Linked DNA regions of Homo sapiens: regions 2 and 3 are each linked to region 1. The links are contacts of gene promoters, found by promoter capture Hi-C in human tissues and cell types (Jung and others, 2019). All regions are on one chromosome and are shown on one strand. The core of a region is centred on a gene start or on the middle of the fragment in contact, and the rest is flanking DNA. Distances in the headings are between cores, read along the strand shown.

Region 1 (3,054 bases), core at 4-2,503:
GGCGAAGTTCCTCGAGGGAAAAGGAAGGGAGCGGCTGGGGGGGCGGTTGGGGGGGGCCCGGAAAATGGATCCCAGGCCCAGGCGGGGCCCTAGCGGGGCCTGAGCCGGGGAACGACTGCGTCTCCGAAGAAAGGTGCCAAAGAAGGCTAGGTGAGGGCCTAACGGTCCGTTGGGAGCAGAAGAATCTGGGAGGCGTTTACCTGGAAAGCTCCTGTTGAATTTCCCGGAATTTACTGACCACGAAAGACCTAAAAATCTGCTCGATGTTGGTCGCCATGGCGTCCGCTCCGTTCTCTCAACTCCTCCTCGCTAGTCCTCCAGGCTCCCAGCATGCCTCGGGAGGAGGCGCACGGGCCAATTCGGTCTCTCGCCTTCCTGATTGGCTCCAAAGGGAATGCCCGGTCCGGCCCGCTCCACCGAGGGACCAATCAGTGAGCACGGCCCTGCTCTCCTCTGCTGTTTCTGAGCGGCTGGGGTAGAGGTGCTGACGTTTGCGCCGCGCACGACTATGTCCGCCATGTTAGTGTCTGACGCAGGCGCCATTACAGGAGCCGTCTCTCTTGAGGCGACCGTGTCCGCATAAGTTGTCAGTCCCCAGCAGTGTTTGGGAGCCTTAACAGGCTTGCTAAGTGCCTGAGATTAAAGGCGAAGAGGAAGAAGAGCAAGAAGGGCAACCCGGTGTTTAACACACGGCTTTCAGGCGCTCTCAGGTGGCGCCAAGTTCAGTTTCGACAGGGATATGCATCCGGGAGAGAATTTTTCAGCCCCCGCCCCCACTGGCATGTGAGAGGAGGAACTCGCTGTTGCCCTGTGTCTTCCCCAGTGCGTTCTATAACCAGCCTCATTTTTTTTTTTAGCAATAGGCCGGATGTCCTAAGCGACCGGCATTCAAAGCCCGGTGCATTTTAGTCTCATCAGGAGTCAGGCGTGTCACGAGATTTTTCCGCGGTAGCTGCTCAGCTCTGACTCGTGAGCGGCGCACAATTGGCTAAGAATGGGTTTAGCATTTTGGCGCTCCCCCCCGGCGCTCCTGGAAACACTGCGTGGCACCCCGTACCACTGTCACATTATAAACGTGCTAAGGCTTGGGTGTCTCGGCTGGGGAGCAGTCAGGCAGCGCCCAGGGCGGGAGGGAATCAGACTAGATTCTCGCCGCGGAGACCCAGGGCCGCGCGGACCAATGGGGCAGGGAAGCCGTCGTAGGGCGGGGCAGTGAGGGGCGGTGCCGCGCTGGTCCCGCGCCGGTCCCGGTGGGCCGACTTCCGGCGAGCGGGCAAGCGGGAACCAGGTGGCCACCCGGTGTCGGTGCGTAAACCCCCTCCGCTTTTACACGGAGCGCGCTTAGGCTTTGGTTTGGGGATTTAAGATCGCGAACTGAGTGAAACCATAGAAACTGATTTGTAGAAATTTTCCTGTTGTTTGTAAATGCGGTGGGTGGGGGTTGGCCATGTGCTTTTCACTTGCTACTGTTAGCTGGTTTCTATTTGCTCTTTTACTTTTCCTGTTTTCTAAGATGTCAAGGCCTTTTTGTGTCTTTATACATTTTTAGGACATAACCCTAAATTGGTGTACTTTCTCTTTATGCACCCGTTGTCTCTGGCAGATTACTTGGTTAATTTTGTAGTTGGTTTCTACTTTATTCTCCATATCCTCTGATACGGCTTTATTTGCCTGTCTTATTCTGCTTATGTTACCCATTCTGAGGAATGAGGCCCAAGGTTAGTGAAGTCCCCCAAGGTCTTCCTGCTAGTATGGGGCAGCGTCTCTACCCAGGCCAAGGCGCTGTGTGAGACTCAGGAGCCCAGGCGTCCTCACCACTGGGTAGTAAGGCTATTTTCAGTGATCCACTAGAGTAAACAGAATTTTCCCACACTACTGCTATATTCAAACTAAAGATGTAACATTTGCTCTAGATTTAAAGATCTGTTTATTTCTGGCCGGATGTGATGTAATCCCAGCACTTGGGAGGCCAAGGTGGGTTGACCATTGGAGGTCAGGAGTTCGAGACCAGCCTGGCCAACGTAGTGAAACCCCGTCGCTACTAAAAATACAAAAATTCGCCTGGCGTGGCGGCGCACGCCCGTAATCCCAGCTACTTGGGAGGCTGTGAGGCAAGAGAATCGCTTGAACCCGGGAGGCGGAGGTTGTAGTGAGCTGAGATCACACCACTGCCCTCCAGCCTGGGCGACAGAGAGAGACTGTCTAAACAAATAAATAAATAAATAAAATAAAAAATCTGTTTATTTCAGATACACATGGCAAGTAAAATGTGTTTTCCCGTTACACTAAAGTAGCTGTTCCTTCCGAGACTGTAATTTAACAGGGTTTTTTTTTTTCCTTTCTCAAATTTTCAATGATCATCGTTTCACTTGTTGAGAGAATCTGAAGCAAAATTGCTTCTGTTAGGCTCCACCCCCTCTTACCTGTGTGACCTCCAGCAAGTTATTTACCTATCTGGGCCTCCTTGTCTTATCTGCAAATTGGTGATAGTAATAGTATCTCCCTCATAGGATTCTTTCATGACAAGCATTTTAAATAGTACCCTGCCCAAGGTTAAGTGCTCAAAAAAATGTTAGTTTTGTATATTGTCAGCTTACATTTTTCTTAAAATATGTAATCCCAACATCATCAAAATAAGTTTTCAATTTTCTTTTTCCTGTTACCAGTTTGTCTTGTGGTAAGTAAATGTAACAAGTTAACATTTACTACTGCTGAGTGCCAGATTGTACTTATTTATAAATGTCATTTCAGTTAATCTCCTAGGTTACACTGCTGTTGTATCCATCCTTCTAAGTCTCAGGTGCCAGAACTAAAGTGAAATGAGTTGGAATTTGATTTTTGCCTTCTCTACCAATATTCTAGCATATTGCGCTATTTGAATTAGGAGTCAGCAAACTATGGCCCACATACCAAATCCTTCTGCTGCCTGCTTTTGTACAGCTCACCAAATATGAATGATTGAGAAAAAGAACAGGAAATAAATGAGGTTTTTGTGACATGTGAAAATTTTATGAAATTCAAATTATAGTATCCGTACATAAAGTTTTATTGAAA
Region 2 (3,012 bases), core at 125-2,624, 350 kb after region 1:
TAGGTAAGCATTATTTGTTTGAATGATTACAATTGAGACAAAATGTGGGTTTTTAACAGCTGCTCACAGATTGCAGGCTGATAATGACAGTAACTCTATGGCAGCTATTTGTAACCCCTACCCTAGTTCATAGAAAGAGAAGCATATTAGACAGTGGGCATGGCAAGTACCTCTCCGCAGGTGTGTACGGAATCAGAATTCAACTTTTAGAAGATTTCTGCTCTGAAAACAAATTATTTTTTAAAGTAAGCTTTTACTTATTTTGGGGGGTATGGTGAGTACTTGGGAACGTGAGAGAGTGTTTCCTACTTTTCTCATGGTGAGAGTTGACAAGATGTGAGGTTTGGAGCCTGTGTTGTAGAATTCAAGGTCATCAAAAAAGGCAGGTCTTGTGGCTCTGCTTGAGGCATGAGTTAAAACTTTTCTTATCATCCTGATCAAATACAGTTGTAGGAGTTGTCGCAGGGAGATTAGCACCCTTTCTCCAGTTCATCTTGGACAGGTGGTTTTTATTATTCTTGTATTTGGTTTTTATCCTCTTTCTTTCAGAGCTAAGGGAGACTCATCAGAATGGATGGTTTCTGAAATAGGAATCTATTCAAGATTTAGGAATATAGAATTTTTATTTTTTAAAACACATTACATTTCATTACACTGTCCAATGATATAACAGAACCACAGACTTTTCTGGTTGTGTCCTGCTCTTTATTTTTACCTGGATCCAAGCTTTCTTCAATGATTCTCTCTCTCTCTCTTTTTCTTTTTCTTTCTTTTTTTTTTTTTCTTTTTTGAGTTGGAGTCTTGCTCTGTCACCCAGGCTGGAGTACAGTGGTGTGATCTTGGCTCACTGCAACCTCCGCCTCCTGGGTTCAAGTGATTCTCGTGCCTCAGCCTCCTGAGTAGCTAGGATTACAGGTGTATGCTACAATGCCTGATAAACTTTTGTATTTTTTGGTAGAGACTGGATTTCACCATGTTGCCCAGGCTGGTCTCAAACTTCTGGCTTCAAACTATCTGCCTGCCTCAGCCTCCCAAAGTGCTGGGATTACAGGCGTGAGCACCGTGCCCTGCCTCTCTTCAAGGACTCTCTTTGCTACATCGGCATCACCTGGGAACGTGGTAGGGCTACAGAATCTTGGGCCCCACCTTGGACCTACCTAATCGTCATCTTATTCATTGGTGTTCCCTTCGCCAGGTGAGTTTTGCACTGACTAAAACACACAGATCTATCAGGTGAGTCGAAATGGCAATACTCATTTACCTTAGTTCTGCCTTTATTTTACTTTCAGTGTTTTATCCTTGTCCATGGAGTCACTCTCATTCATGCAGTTCCACAAATATTTTTTAAGGCCCACTCTGTGGCAGACATAATACAAAGGGCTGAGAATAAAGATGAAAAAAATCATTTACTCAAAGTATGTAGTATGTCATCCAATGATAAGTTATGGAGGAAAAGGCAGGCTAAGGGGGCCGGGAGTGTGGGAAAAGGGTGCAGTGGTATACAGAGTGATCAGCGAAGCCTTCTCCCAGGAAGGGGCCTCTGAGCAGAGAAGGGGAGGACAGAAGGAAAAGTCACGTGGAGGGCTCAGGGAACTACCTCCTCTGCCCTCCAAAGCCACTAGCGAATCGCTGTGTGCGAGGGTTGCCACATTTAGCAAAAATACAAGATACCTAGTTGCATTTGAATTTCAGATCAACCTTGAATATGTGTTGGGTATAACATACTAACTTTTTTTCTTTTTCTTTTTCCTTTTTTTTTTTGTTTTGAGACAGAATCTCACTCTGTTGCCCAGGCTGGAGTGCCGTGGTGCGATCTCGGCTCACTGCATCCTCCGCCTCCCTGGTTCAAGAGATTCTCTTGCCTCAGCCTCCTGAGTAGCTGGGATTACAGGCACCTGCCACCATACCCAGCTAATTTTTGTATTTTTAGTAGAGACAGGGTTTCGCCATGTTGGCCAGGCTGGTCTTGAACTCCTGACCTCAGGTGATCCGGCCGCCTCGGCCTCCCAAAATGCTGGGATTACAGGCGTGAGCACCGTGCCTGGCCTAACTTTTAATATTAAAATACACATATATAAAATTTAGTACATATACTAGTACATAGTACATGTACTAAATTATATTGTAATGTTTTTAGTATGTCCCATACAATATTTACGACATATTTATTTATACTAAACAAATTCATTGTTTATCAGAAATTAAAATTTAACTGGGCATCCCATATCTGTGTGACCCTCTGTGTGACCGATGGCTTGTGGACCAGACCATGAGCTTGGGGAATGTCCTTCTCAGCAGGACCACCATTTCCCTTCTCAGTCAACCCTCACCTTGTTCCCTAGGCTCTGGGCAGGGTCACCTTGAAGGCGGCCATCTGTGGCCTTGTGTTAACTCCACAGGTGACACCTGGATTCTGTAGTCAGATAAGAATGTGCGCCTGTCTTCTATAGCCAGCTAAGCATTTCCTAAACTAAACACTCCTAAAAAGTCTTCTCTAGTGAACAAAACACATCTTAGAATCCTCCAGGAATATACTCCATTGTGAATGGATCACAGTGGGGAAAAAAAGTGAATTGTTCCTTTGTCCATCTAATGTTTGGGAGAAACTCATGATTTATTTTGCAGCCAAACGCACACGCAATCCAGTTTGCAGTTTTCCAAAGGCTATTTCTGATGTGGGATGTGTGGCTCCTCCCACCTCTTCCTGGTATAATCTATAGCGTAACATCTGTGTGTCTATGCTAAGAGTCAAGCCATTAACCTCTGAATTTATTTATTTATTCGAGATGGAGTTTTGCTCTAGTCGCCCAGGCTAGAGTGGAATGGTGCCATTTCTGGTCACTGCAACCTCCGCCTCCCGGGTTCAAATGATTTTCCTGCCTCAGCTTCCCAAGTAGCTGGGATTACAGGCATGCACCACCATGCCTGGCTAATTTTGTGTTTTTAGCAGAGATGGGGTTTCACCTTGTTGGCCAGGCTGGTCTTGAACTCCTGACCTCAAGTGATTCACCT
Region 3 (2,700 bases), core at 126-2,625, 360 kb before region 1:
GTATAAAGGCCAAAAAGCCCTTTTGGCCTAGAGAATTTGGTTTGAGTAGATTATGTTTAGGAATTAATTGGTTAGACACAGCACCTAACACATGGTCACTCAGCAAAGTCTATCTGGTCCTGCCTGCCAAAATCCCGTGTCTTTAAGGGTTTGTTCAGAGTTCCTGGTCCCTACTAGATCATCGGATCTGTGTTTGATCCATAGCCCTCCAGGGAGGCCTCTTGCCCTTGATCCTAACATGAACACACCTAGTTGTAGGCTGCTCTGTAGCTTTCAAGGCCATTTCATGTACATCTGAAGCTGCATGACAGCCTTGTCACACGGGTGGGAGAGACATCACCCCACTTTACAAATGAGGAAAGAGATTGAGGGGCCCTAGAGATGTGCTCAGAGTCACCTGTCTGGACAGCTGGTGTCAGGCCCTACAGCCCATGTTTTTACCACTGTATAACTAACACCATGCGCCGACACGTTGCTGGAGCAAACGGGCAAAAGTTACCTTAGGTAGGTCCCCTGCCCCTTCCCGCTTTGTCCCTAAGATGCTCCCAATTCACCTTTTAACCAAAACCAGTTCCCAGGTCAGCTCTTCCACTACATTTTACCTTTTGGTCTTCTAGAGAAAATAGTTACAGAGTTCCCCACGCAACAGCCCGCTCAGGTGCCTGTTCCTTAGTCAACCTCCAAGAACTTTTGGCCAACAAACCAGTTCCCTTCCCAGAACCACCCCTGGTTGGGCAGAGGCAGGACCATTGCAGCAAAGAAGTCCTACAGAGCAATGACATGGCCCAGCGCTGCTCCCTATGTGCTAGTGCTGGGACTGGCGTGCCCTCCATGTGGCACAACACTCCTGACACTCATGCTTGGCTTCAACTCCAGCTTCCTCCTGGCAAAGCTTTTAATACATGATCACCTAATGTGACAACCAACGGAGACACCACGTGGCCCCTCAGCCTTTCCAGGAACCAGGAGTGCTGAGGCCCCTCAACCTTTCCAGGAACCAGGAGTGCTGAGGCCCCTCAACCTTTCCAGGAACCAGGAGTGCTGAGGCTGCTGGCTGGCCCGAAGACCATTCAGCCACCTTTTAGGTGGGCCTAGGGCTACTCAGCTAGAGACCACATTCTTGAGCCTCTGGCAGCACCTGACCTTGGTGCTGAGTTCTGGCAAATGGGAAAGGAGAGGAAGCGAGGTGTGCCTTCCTGGACTGCCCTCTTGAGCAATCCTTAGTCCATCCCTCTAGCTAGATGCAGACAAGATGGCAAGCGATGCCAAGGGCAGAGCCACCCTGCCAAGCCTTACTGCTGCCCCTGGGCTGTTAAACACGATGAAGAAATAGACCTCTCTTCAAAGCCACGGGATATTGAGTTCTGTCTCCGCAGCTGAGTCTGCAACCTAACCATGACCACATTCCAGGTTCCCCCAGACTCACTGCCTGCCTCCTGCCTGCAGTGAGGCCTGCTCTGCAGAAGGTGGCGTCATACACACAATCACAGCTCCTACAGACATGTGACTGCCAATGGACAAACCGTCTTTGCGGGAGCCTCATGCTGCTGATGCTGCCCAGATCCTTCAGAGTCAAACTCAGCAAGCTTCCTGTTGATCAAGCACATACAATCTTGGGGAATGATGAGGCCCTTCATATGTCGCCTTACGAGGTCACCAGAGAGAACCTAGAGATCTATGTACAATGATTTGTTTTGTTTTTTGAGACAGTCTCACGCCATCACTCAGGCTGGAGTGCAGTGGCACGACCATGGCTCACTGCAACCTCAACCTCCTGGGCTCAAACCATCCTCCCACCTCAGCTGAAACTACAGGCAGTGAAACTAGAGGCAGTGCGACCACACCCAGCTAGTTTTCATATTTATAGTAGAGACAGGATCTTGCCATGATGCTCAGGCTGGCTTTAAACTCCTGGGCTCAAGTGATCACTGGCCTCAGCCTCCCAAAGTGCTGGGATTATAGGCTTGAGCCACCACACCCAGCCTACAATGATTTTCTTCACAGTATTTTTTTAAAATCAAGGTGAAAGTTTTACAGTCCCTTGTATATGGGATATTTTCGATGCATATTAGCTATTAAATAGTACAAGAGGCCGAGCGCAGCCAGGGTGACAAGAGCAAGACTCCGTCTCATAAATAAATAAATAGTACAAGAGTATTTAAAATGCACACACACACAAAAAATACAGAAATGAAGTGCATCAAAACCTTTATTTTTGTGTAGAAGAACATCTCCATTAAGTGATTTTATTTCCTTTGTGTTTTTCTTTCCTTGCTGAATTTTCTGCATTAACAAGTATTACTTCTGTAACAAGAAGAAAAACTAAATATTTGAGAATAAAAAGTATTGCCTTGATTATGCTGGCTACTAACCGTGGTTAAATAGGTAATAATTACATGTTTTGTACTAGTGATTCCATCCACTCTCTGGTCTGTGTGAGGGGGCCCTCATCAGACTTGGAGAGAACTAGGTATAGTTGGGAAAGTTAATTATTGCATTTGTTTTTAATGGCATTTAACTTTTTATTTTTAAGACAGGGTCTCACTCTGTCACCCAGACTGGAGTGCAGTGGCACAATCATGGCTCACTGCAGCCTTGGCCTCCTGGACTCAAGAGATCCTCCTGCCTCAGCCTCCCAAATACCCGGGACCATGAGCATGTGCCACCATGCCTGGCTGATTTATTTTTTGTAAAGACAAG

The links. The method cuts DNA at HindIII sites, captures the fragments that hold promoters and counts their contacts. A contact is called where the count stands out against the background at its distance.
Region 2: a contact is called between a fragment that was not itself captured here and the fragment with the promoter of GART in region 1, in 1 of the 25 tissues and cell types used here (H1 embryonic stem cells).
Region 3: a fragment that was not itself captured here is called in contact with the fragment with the promoter of GART in region 1 in 1 of the 25 tissues and cell types used here (dorsolateral prefrontal cortex).

The regions. Positions count from the first base shown.
Region 1 is chr21:33,540,316-33,543,369 of GRCh38, reverse strand. It overlaps GART (phosphoribosylglycinamide formyltransferase, phosphoribosylglycinamide synthetase, phosphoribosylaminoimidazole synthetase), which reads left to right and starts at 1,253. Exons shown (of 22, transcript NM_000819.5): 1 at 1,253-1,305. It overlaps SON (SON DNA and RNA binding protein), which reads right to left and starts at 332. Exons shown (of 12, transcript NM_138927.4): 1 at 201-332. The coding sequence starts at 277. RefSeq lists silencers at 1-47, 1,088-1,377 and enhancers at 228-287, 192-923, 488-937. The HindIII fragment of the contact is 11,246 bases long and covers 1-3,054 here.
Region 2 is chr21:33,193,494-33,196,505 of GRCh38, reverse strand. LOC105372787 (a long non-coding RNA gene) reads left to right here and starts at 989. Exons shown (of 3, transcript XR_937675.3): 1 at 989-1,195. The HindIII fragment of the contact is 3,695 bases long and covers 1-3,012 here.
Region 3 is chr21:33,900,681-33,903,380 of GRCh38, reverse strand. No RefSeq gene overlaps it. Among named protein-coding and RNA genes, the nearest start is that of ATP5PO, 14 kb to the left of the region's middle. RefSeq lists an enhancer at 1,005-1,600. The HindIII fragment of the contact is 3,345 bases long and covers 1-2,700 here.